Linked DNA regions of Homo sapiens: region 1 is linked to region 2. Evidence: promoter capture Hi-C in 16 types of primary human blood cells and fetal thymus (Javierre and others, 2016). All regions are on one chromosome and are shown on one strand. The core of a region is centred on a gene start or on the middle of the fragment in contact, and the rest is flanking DNA. Distances in the headings are between cores, read along the strand shown. Region 1 overlaps DYNC1I1 (dynein cytoplasmic 1 intermediate chain 1). Region 2 holds the start of DLX6 (distal-less homeobox 6).

Region 1 (4,998 bases), core at 1,521-4,020, 1.0 Mb before region 2:
TATTGGAAAAAGAAAATATGACTAGTCATGTTCAAACAAACAGTGGAAAAAGACATACTAGAGGGCACCTTGAAATCCCAAAAACTTGCGTGAGATAAAATTTAAATCAGTATCTTTAGGCCTTATGATCTCAGTTATAGAAATTATGCCAATGACATTTCACTGGTAATTTTACTAAAGCACTCCCTGTTTTCTAAAGGAGTTTTAAAGCTAAATAATTTTAAATATTTTTAAATGGAAAAAGAAAAGCTGCAAGTGGGTACCAACAATGAGACCCAGCTGGGTGATATTATTGCAGAAACATCTAGCTGCTCCTTAGCCCCTGTGGTGGTGGTGTTGATGTTTATAGAGTTGCCTTTTCACATGTGACATAGTTAAACTTCAGATGGACAGTCTGGAGACTTCTGTGTTTATCTGGATGTTAGTTTCTTTGAATGGGCTTTGAATCAAAGGCTTTCTTAATAGGCCTTTGATTCATCCGCTGCAGAGTGTTTTTTAATAAAGAATGATTACTTCCCCTGGTGGCCACATACATGTGTGTCACTGTACGCTTATACTTCCTCTGCACAACCAGCACATTGTAACTCTCTGCAGATTTCTTTAGTTGAGGCTGCTGGAAGAATGAATAAGACTTAGATGTAGTTATTTTTAATAGAAAAAAAAGATCTGTGTTCAAATTCATAAAGGCAATCTTCCATTAAATATATGTATAGAATAATGAAAAAGGAGGAAAAAATTAAATTATAAGAAGAGAGTGATACGGTCTGCCATAATCCTGATACTATTTTTAATAGGACTGCCTTTTGAGACTCCTATGTAGGAATGACATTTTCATGAAATGTGTCCTAACTCATAAGTACTTCCTATGAGATTTATCCTCAGTTTATTTAGTAACACTCAGGACAGAGTTTTTGTAGGGTGAGTAGGTCTTTCTAATACCTAGAATCACTATAGAGTCCTTCTTGTTATTTTACTGGTTATGTTTCTGGCATTTAAGCCTTTAATTATTAGCATTGTTTGACAACAAAGGATGATATATAAAGCCTTTCTATTGAGCACAGAATTACTAAAATTAAAAATTTTAAATAATTAAAGAAATTTTGGCACAAGTTTATTATATGCTAGGAATTGACCCTGGATTCAGAGGTCAACAAAAACCAGTCCCTACTCTCAAAGAGCTTGCAATCGAGTGAAAGACACAGGTGTAGAAAAAAAATTATAATGCATTTGACAAGGGCTTTAATTGGCAGGACAGACACATGATACAAAGGGAGCTGATAACAGGCAAGGAAGGAAGTGGTTGGTTAAGTCAGGATTGTCTGGAGGACTTGATGCCTGTGTTGAGTCTTAAAGGATGAGTTAATTATGTAAACAACACCAAAGGGTCATCCCAGTGAGAGTGAGTATGAGACTCATAGGTACAGAGATGTACCTGTGTGCCTCAAAACTAGTCCAGTGAGGCTGGGTCATAGGCTGTGGGAGGTGGGGAGAAAGAGGGAAGGTTGTAGGAGAGTAAGCAGGAAAGGCAAAAAATGACAGATTATTAAGGATCCTCTGTGACCTGCATTTTGCCTTGAAAGTAATGATGAGCCATTAAAGTATTTTAAGCTGAGGAATGACTTAGCCAAATACATATTTTGTAAAGTCTTCCTGATAAAGGATGGAGAATGGAGTAGGTCAGTATAGGAAGCCATTTATGAAGCTGCTGCCTTCATCCAGATAAGAAATTAATTTAGCAGGCTCTGACCTTAAAGATAGAAAGAAAATATTCATTTGAAAGGTATTGAGGAAATAGGGAAATTTAGTGTGTGGGAGTGAGAGAGAGAAAGAAGTAAAAATAAATGGGCCAGGCATGGTGGCTCACGCCTGTAATCCCAGCACTTTGAGAGGCCGAGGCTGGTGGATCACGAGGTCAGGAGATCGAGACCATCCTGGCTAACACGGTGAAACCCCGTCTCTACTAAAAATACAAAAAATTAGCCAGGCGTGGTGGCCGGCGCCTGTAGTCCCAGCTACTCAGGAGGCTGAGGCAGGAGAATGGCGTGAACCCCTGAGGTGGAGCTTGTAGTGAGCCAAGATCAGGCCACTGCACTCCAGCCTGGGCAACAGAGCGAGACTCCATCTCAAAAAATAAATAAATAAATAAATAAATAAATAAATAAATAATGTAGAATGGCTGGCCTGGGCCAGGCGAATGTTAGTGCAAGACCCTAAAATAGGGAACATGGAGGAGCAGTAGGTTTCGTGTGGAAGTCAATGAGATCATTTTTCTATGTGTTACAATTGATGGGTCTATGGACAGCCCTGAGAAATCCCCAGTAGGCAGTCAGATATAAAGACCTGCATCTCAGAGAGAAATTAAGCCTAGAGATATAGATTTGAAAATTACCAGCATGTTAAGCTTATTAAAGCCACTGGAGTAGATGAACTTACTCAGCGAGAATAGCCCTCCTTGGAATTTATGTAATAGAAGGAGAACCTGCAGGAACTGAAAAGAGAAGTCAGGGAAGAAAATCAGGAGAGAAAGATGTAATGGAAGCCAATACAGGAGAGGAAGGGAGTAGCACAAAGTGTCAAATAATACGGAGAGGTAAAGCGATGTTTGTAGTTTGATAGTTACCGGTGAGTATGACAAGCGCATACAGAGTGTTGGAGGCAGAAACAAGATTGCAGGAGGTTGCAGCAGTAAGCTGATAGTAGGTATGCCACAACATAACAGAAAGCACCATTTACACTGTGTAGTATACCACGTGTATGTAGGAATAACAAAGTTTTCCTTGTGTTGTCATCTTAGCATAATTCATCCTTGTGACCTCTTCCATTTAGTACCCTGAGCTGATGGTGGCTTCTTACAACAACAATGAAGATGCTCCCCATGAACCAGATGGAGTGGCCTTGGTTTGGAACATGAAGTTTAAGAAAACCACACCAGAATACGTCTTCCACTGTCAGGTAGGAGTCAGCGTAGTAAAAATAACTTACATCTCCTGCTAGACCAAATATAGTTTGTGCTGCATTGCATCTGTCTTATGCTGAGAGGAAGAACTCAGTTTAAAAATGAAATTGTTGACAATTTTGGAAAATTCCCCCACAGTAACCTAATGTTTTGGGAAAGTGGCAACCCTCCCCAAACAGTTAGGAAGCTTGGTTAGGGACTGTGTGTCATTTTCTTTCTATTTAAAACAGCCCCCATGAGGATGAGTTTATAAAGACCTCGCACTTATGAAGAAATCGTGGTGTACCACTTCCTCTGCTTAAAAGCAACATATGCTTGCCCACCCACGTGGACATCCTCAGAGCACTACCATTTCAAGTCTCCTACTCTCTTGGAAATGCAGTTCAATGGATTTTGCTGACTTTAAGTTTATGGGCGCCATACTACTTAACAGATAATACTTTTGTAGCTGGCATGGGGCAAGACTTACCACTCGTATTTCTTGAGTTGCTGGGAAATATAGATGCTGTTTCTGGTTTGAAAATGCAGAGATAATTTCAAATATGTTTGTATTTTTCATTCCTTCTCTCTGCGGACACGTCTTCTCTTCCCCTTGACACAATACAGGCTGAAATTATGGTACCCTTGTACACGTTCAGCATTGCTCTGTTGCCATGACTCTGCCTAAATAATAGGCCTCAGCATAGGCCAATACACCAACCCCTTTATTAATGCTCCTATCCTGTGATTATGCACAGGCAAATAAAAAACAAACATTTCAGCTCAAAATTGCAGTTCCTCAAATGTTAACAATTCAGAGGTACTGAGTGGCAGATTACTCTGAATACAAAGACATCATTTGAAGAGGGTGGGTAAACCTGTTGATTTTTGGAAGCTTAGTGCCATTTTCTATCTAAGAGCCAAGTATCTTTTTGAACTAAAATATGTTTAGACTTTAGAGCATTATCAGATATAATTTGGGGAATAGGAGCTGCTGGAATAGAGTCCCAGCCTCAACCTGATTGAGTAACCTCTAACTCTGGCCATGTTTTTCTAATTTGCTGTCTCAAAAACAACTTAACAAGAAGTCTAGTTCTGTATGGTAAATAACCTTTATTTTCTTAGCCTTTGAAATAAGAACGGTTCTTTCTTTTTTTCTTTTATTTTTTTTAAGATTTTCAAGTCAGCTTGATATGCTCCTTCTGTAAACATAGAAGCACAAAATCCTAATTTTGTTCAGTTTTACAAGGTTTGCCGAATTCCCAGGAAAATACTGTAAGGATTAAGAAATAAAGAGAAGCACATTTTTGAAAAACAGTGCCTTTTAAATTATTTTGATATTACAGAAAGTCTTTGATTTTAAAAATCCAACAATAATACATTATTATAATCAATATGTATGATCTTTATCATGATTTTTAAATTTTAATTATATTAACTGACTACAGGTTTCTGGAATCAACTGTAAATTACTTGTTTTACCACACAACAATAGTTAATACTAGTATTAATTGAAAAGGGCATTCTTGTGTGTGTGTGTGTGTGTGTGTGTGTGTGTGTGTGTGTGTATCTTTGGGATCATTGACTAAACATTTCTCCAACAAACATTTTTTTTAGTTTCTCCCTTAATGATCCAATATATGTCATTGAGAAGAAAATATACTCGTGATTTTAAAAAAAAAGCAAGAGGTACCCTAAATATAGTAACAAGATAGTCATACCAGAGTTACCAAAAGATGCTGAGTAAAATAGTTGATTCCAAAAACTTGTAGTCAGCACTTTGATACAGGTGATACTCATGAAGTTGGGATAAAGGTCAGGTAAATATCACTGGCTGCCAAAGAAAAACAAAATTGCTATGATATTTAGTATTTCTGAACTGTTGGGAGACAAAATCAGGAAACTTTCAGCAGCCAGGGAAGTCCTAGATGAAATAGTGATGGAGGTTAGGTAGACAGATAACATAATAAAGGCAATTTGGTTACCTTTGTACTAAAGTGTAATACCTGTAGCAATATCTACGTGTTTCTGTATTTTAAATTTTCCCAACACTTCTGCCTTCA
Region 2 (4,802 bases), core at 1,943-4,442:
AATCTGCCGCGTTCAATTGGAGAGAAATGACTGTCGGAAGAGGCCCTGCGGTAAATAGCCTCTGAGCCGCGAACTCTATGCGCCGTGGCCGGTGGCAGAGGCCACACCTGGCAGCCACTCGTGGCGCGCCACCTTGGCATGTTGTGTGCGGGTCACACTATCTCCAGTTTTCCATTCTCGATACTGGCAGGAAAGTCTGATAGTCAGGCCTGAAGTTTAGATTCCATCCCGCAAGCGCAGAGATATCACACCAAGTGGGACCTCTCGCTCGTTCCACTTCCCAGCCCCTGACTGTCTCTGAGCTCAGACTGGGTCGCCCAGCAGGTTTCAGCAGGACCTTTACCATGCACCACAACTACCACCTCAGTGCAGCTGCTTCACTGGAACAGAGTGCAAGGATTTTAGCCACTAACTATTAGGGGAAGGTTGAGAGCCCTGAAGCTACAACCCGGACAATCCCAGCCTTCCCGGCTTCCTCAGCAATCAAACAAATGAGAAAAAAAAATCCCCTTGCAAGTAGAGGCAGCTGCACTCTGGATACAGTGCTCAATTGCAGGGACCTTCCGAGGCCCTGCCACGACATACTCTAATTGGGGTGCAGCCAGAGTTGCAGGAAGCTGGCGAGGAAAGCGGTGCACCTGTGAGCATAAAGCGAAAAACATAGACAAGCACAGGGTGAGGGTGTAGGGGGTGAAACGCCTTCACGGTGTTAACAACAAGCTGCAGGGTATAAAGCAATAAAACTGCCACGTCTACCTGCTGGTATTGAGGACATTACAAACAGTCTCGGCGCGCAGCCCGCGTGTACCGAGAGCGCACTAGGGTTGGGAGTGGGAAGGTGGGGTGGGAAATCTTCTCTTTTCCTGACATTCCCTTCTGTCCCCCACCCCCCACATCTCCCCCTTACTTAGCCCACCTTTCTTTTTCCATGAAGCTTTTCTGTTGTTGTTTTAATTCATTGCCGATTTGTAAACGTGTAGATCGTGTTACTGGTTCGCGTGTTAAAGTGCACCTCTTGTTAAAAGGTGGGGAACAGGGCACGCCACTTAAAAATGAATTCAGAGTTACTGAACCGGCTCCCCAGACTCAAGAACTTAAGCGCAACGGGCTGGGAAAAGGAGGGGGAGAGGAGCGCAAACGCCGCTGACCTGGGAACTCGGAGGAAACTCGCGGGCAGCGAGCTTCAGGTCTTCTGATACATTGAAGGAAAGAAAGAAAGACAGAAAAAGAAAAAAACAAACTGTCCTGGAGATAGCTAGACATCCAGGGCTGGGAGCTGGGAAAATCAATTGGCATAAGCCGCTGCCGGCGGGCTTCGCGCAACGTAAAAAATAAAGTCCAAGCTGCTCCATCTGCAGCCACCCTTTTCTGGAGTTAAAGGGGCAAGCGGCACCTTTTCTCTATTTCTCAGTTTCCTTCGGTCCTGTAACTTATGGAGTCCAGAAGAAGTAGGATATACAGAAGTCCTCAGTAGTTTTCCCAAAGGGAGACACTGTCTCCTTCCCGCAACCTCCAGACACTGCAGTACAGGGTTGTTAGATATTAGATAGTACGTTTCTCCGTGTGGGCAAAGGCTCGCGGCTTAGGTCTCTAAGCAGATCGAAAGTCGGGGTCCAGACCGAGAGGATCTTCAGGTCTCGTCCACCCAATCTCAAGCCTCTGGAAGGGCGGGCTGCCGGCGACCTCCTCCAGTCCCGGGACCCGGAACCCGGGACCCTGGACGCCGGTGCGGGCGGGCCTGCCCTCCTCTGTGCCTGGCCCCCAGTCTGGCCCTCCTACCTGTTGACCAGGCCTGAACCACGCACCGGGGCTCCGCTGTCTCTGCTTGGCTGCCTTAACCTGCGTGGGTCTGGAGACCGGAGGGAGAAAGGCTAGATCCGCAGCCTTGGGCTGCTCCGAACTTAATGTCTTTCCCCAGTCCATCTTTGAAAGAGAAGTGGTTCTACCACCTGGATGTGCGGATATAAATCCCCTTGCAAATAATAAATGGATTAATAATAACAAGGTATGAAGTTCTTTTTATAGAAAAAAAGGAGAGAATTGAAACTAAATGCGGCAGTTAGACAACCATTTTGATAAGAGGATAATTGAGGCGACACTGGTGTATAATTAGAGGATAATTTATGCTATATCCACTTTTATTCCACCTCCCAAAATAAACCCAGTCCATAATCATTACAGGCAAATTGTTCTGAATTTTATAGCAGCAATTTGAACAAAGTACTGCAGTTAATCATGGGAGATTTTTGTGTATTCCTGATTAGAACTCTAATTGCCTCCTTCCAGAAAGTAAAAATAACTGTAAAACGACTCTATTTTTATCATTAACAATGTTGACAATAAAATAAAATCAATTGGAATTGTAATCGAGAGACAAATTTAGGACGAAGGCACTTTTACTTGGGTAGTTTATATTGTAATCAAGATTTGCCAAACCACTAACCGCATGTATCATTTGCATATATTTGAAAGCATTACAGTAGCTTCTGTTTTCAATAGGAAAAAATGCATTACTGTCAGTCCTCCAACGATTCGTTTTCAGAACACGCTGCTGCGTTCTGAAAAGAAAAAAAAGACGCCCCCCCCCCCCACAACCTTTTGTACAATATATAAGAAATACGGCCTGAAACGGCAGGGACCGAGCCAGAACAGGGTCTGATTTTTCTTTTTCTGTACCACCCCCCAGTGGGGTGGAGCCCAGGTGTGAGGGTTCGTCTTCCTTCTGTGGTTTCAATAAAATACGTCTAGAAAAATCCACGGTGACAAGGAGCTCCCACAAGAGTGTAGTAGGACCAGAGTGGCAGGGACGTCAAGAAAGGGGGGCCTGGATTTAATGCGGGGGTGGGGTCACTGCTTCTAAGCACAGGCAACCTACAAGGGTGCAAAGGGATTGAAAGAGAGCAGCCCCCAGTTGGCTGTTTCAAGGCTGAGATATTGGCAACTGGGGCTCCGGGATTTGGGGCACGAGCTGCGGCGGGAAGCATCGGCGGCCGGCCGGGCAGAGGCGCCTCCCTCCCCAACGGCCCCGGGCGCCACACAGCGCGGCCCCCGGCTGCAGCTCCGGCTGGGATTGGAACTGCGGAAGGTAGGCGAAGAACTCTGCAAGTCGCGCACACGCCAGTAGAAGCCGTGCGCCTGTGACGTCAGGGGGCGACTGACCAATGGGGAGGCACTGCCCTTTGGAGACAAACCATTCGACTCGTGGCGTCTGCATCAAGTCTGAAAGCAGACGCGCAACTTTCGCAGAATCCACCTTAAAATCTCTGCCTTAAACTGCACCAGCCCCCAAAAAATCCAAGGGGGGAAAGCAGGCGGGGGGAGAGCAGATTCCCCCCTCCCCCTCTCCTCTCCCATCCCTCCTCCTTCCTCCTCCCTTTGAGTTAACAAGGCCCCGCTCACTATATCTCTTTATATTAAATATATATATATATTAGAGAAGAGCGAGGGAGAGGGAGAACCACCTCCACCCCCCTCTTTAAATTCTTTTTTTTTTTTTTTTTTTTTTTTGCAAGGATCCAAAGAGCTAAGGTGGCTGCAGAGGGGAGAGCGGCGCGAGCCAAGTGGGGGAGGGTGGAGGAAACCCGGGAGAAGGCTTTCTCCAGCCCCCAAAGTTTTTGATGATGACCATGACTACGATGGCTGACGGCTTGGAAGGCCAGGACTCGTCCAAATCCGCCTTCATGGAGTTCGGGCAGCAGCAGCAGCAGCAGCAGCAACAGCAGCAGCAGCAGCAGCAGCAACAGCAACAGCCGCCGCCGCCGCCGCCGCCGCCGCCGCAGCCGCACTCGCAGCAGAGCTCCCCGGCCATGGCAGGCGCGCACTACCCTCTGCACTGCCTGCACTCGGCGGCGGCGGCGGCAGCGGCCGGCTCGCACCACCACCACCACCACCAGCACCACCACCACGGCTCGCCCTACGCGTCGGGCGGAGGGAACTCCTACAACCACCGCTCGCTCGCCGCCTACCCCTACATGAGCCACTCGCAGCACAGCCCTTACCTCCAGTCCTACCACAACAGCAGCGCAGCCGCCCAGACGCGAGGGGACGACACAGGTGAGAGGCCGCTGGGGCAGCTCGCTTCTCCCGCCTCCCGACTGCCCCCTACCCCGCCCGCCCGCTCACTTCCTCGACGCCCGGGCCTCCGCCGGCCCCCTCCCCCAGGCGGCCCCGCGCGCCCTTGGCCGGGCCCCGTGCGCGCCCGCTCGCCTGGCGCCTGCCTGCCGGCCTCTCCCAGCCGGGCCCCTTCCCGCCGCCGCGGACCCTCAGCTTCCGACGCGCAGTTCGGGCTGAGTCCCGGGCCCGGCGCAGGCTTCGTTCGACGAGTTAGTCCACACTGCGCTCTCCAGCCTCCTGGGTCTGTGCGCCCTTTTCCTTGCTCCTTCCCTCCAGGCTGTAACCCACGTTTGACCCGGCTGGGGACATTTCTGGGCCGGAACTGGGGAGCGTGTTTTGCTTCCCAGCCCACGCTGGGCAGGCAGTGGCCTACTTTGCGTGGGGCGCCCCGTGCTCCTCAGTGACTCGGAGGGAAGCTGGCCTGGCTTTCGCTCTGGTTAAACTAGTAACAGTCAGGCTCTTTCCAGTGGGCTTTAAAGTGTCCCTCACCTTCATCCCTGACCGGGCCCCCTATCTAGCTTTTCGCTACAGTGTTGGCTGCTCCTTTGTTCGTGGAGGGGAAGCAAAGAACCTCGGGCTGATGGTTCTCAGCACCCGAGGGGGACAAAGTTGCCGTGAGAGGCGCAGCCTGCTCGTGGGCTGGTCTGAGCTGTTGGTTGTGTTTTGTTTGAGGATTTGGTCCTCCTCAG

Evidence for each region. Contacts are between HindIII fragments. The CHiCAGO score rates a contact against its expected background, and 5 or more counts as called.
Region 1: a contact is called between a fragment that was not itself captured here and the fragment with the promoter of DLX6 in region 2, in 8 of 17 cell types (naive B cells, non-activated CD4 T cells, endothelial precursors and 5 more). The highest score is 7.2, in naive B cells.

The regions. Positions count from the first base shown.
Region 1 is chr7:95,993,122-95,998,119 of GRCh38, forward strand. DYNC1I1 (dynein cytoplasmic 1 intermediate chain 1) reads left to right here. Exons shown (of 17, transcript NM_001135556.2): 10 at 2,827-2,952. Among named protein-coding and RNA genes, the nearest start is that of DYNC1I1, 220 kb to the left of the region's middle. The HindIII fragment of the contact is 742 bases long and covers 2,400-3,141 here.
Region 2 is chr7:97,002,361-97,007,162 of GRCh38, forward strand. It overlaps DLX6 (distal-less homeobox 6), which reads left to right and starts at 3,193. Exons shown (of 3, transcript NM_005222.4): 1 at 3,193-4,053. The coding sequence starts at 3,618. The region is part of intron 1 of DLX6-AS1 (DLX6 antisense RNA 1); the gene reads right to left. RefSeq lists an enhancer at 1,910-2,631 and a silencer at 3,944-4,043. The HindIII fragment of the contact is 12,379 bases long and covers 933-4,802 here.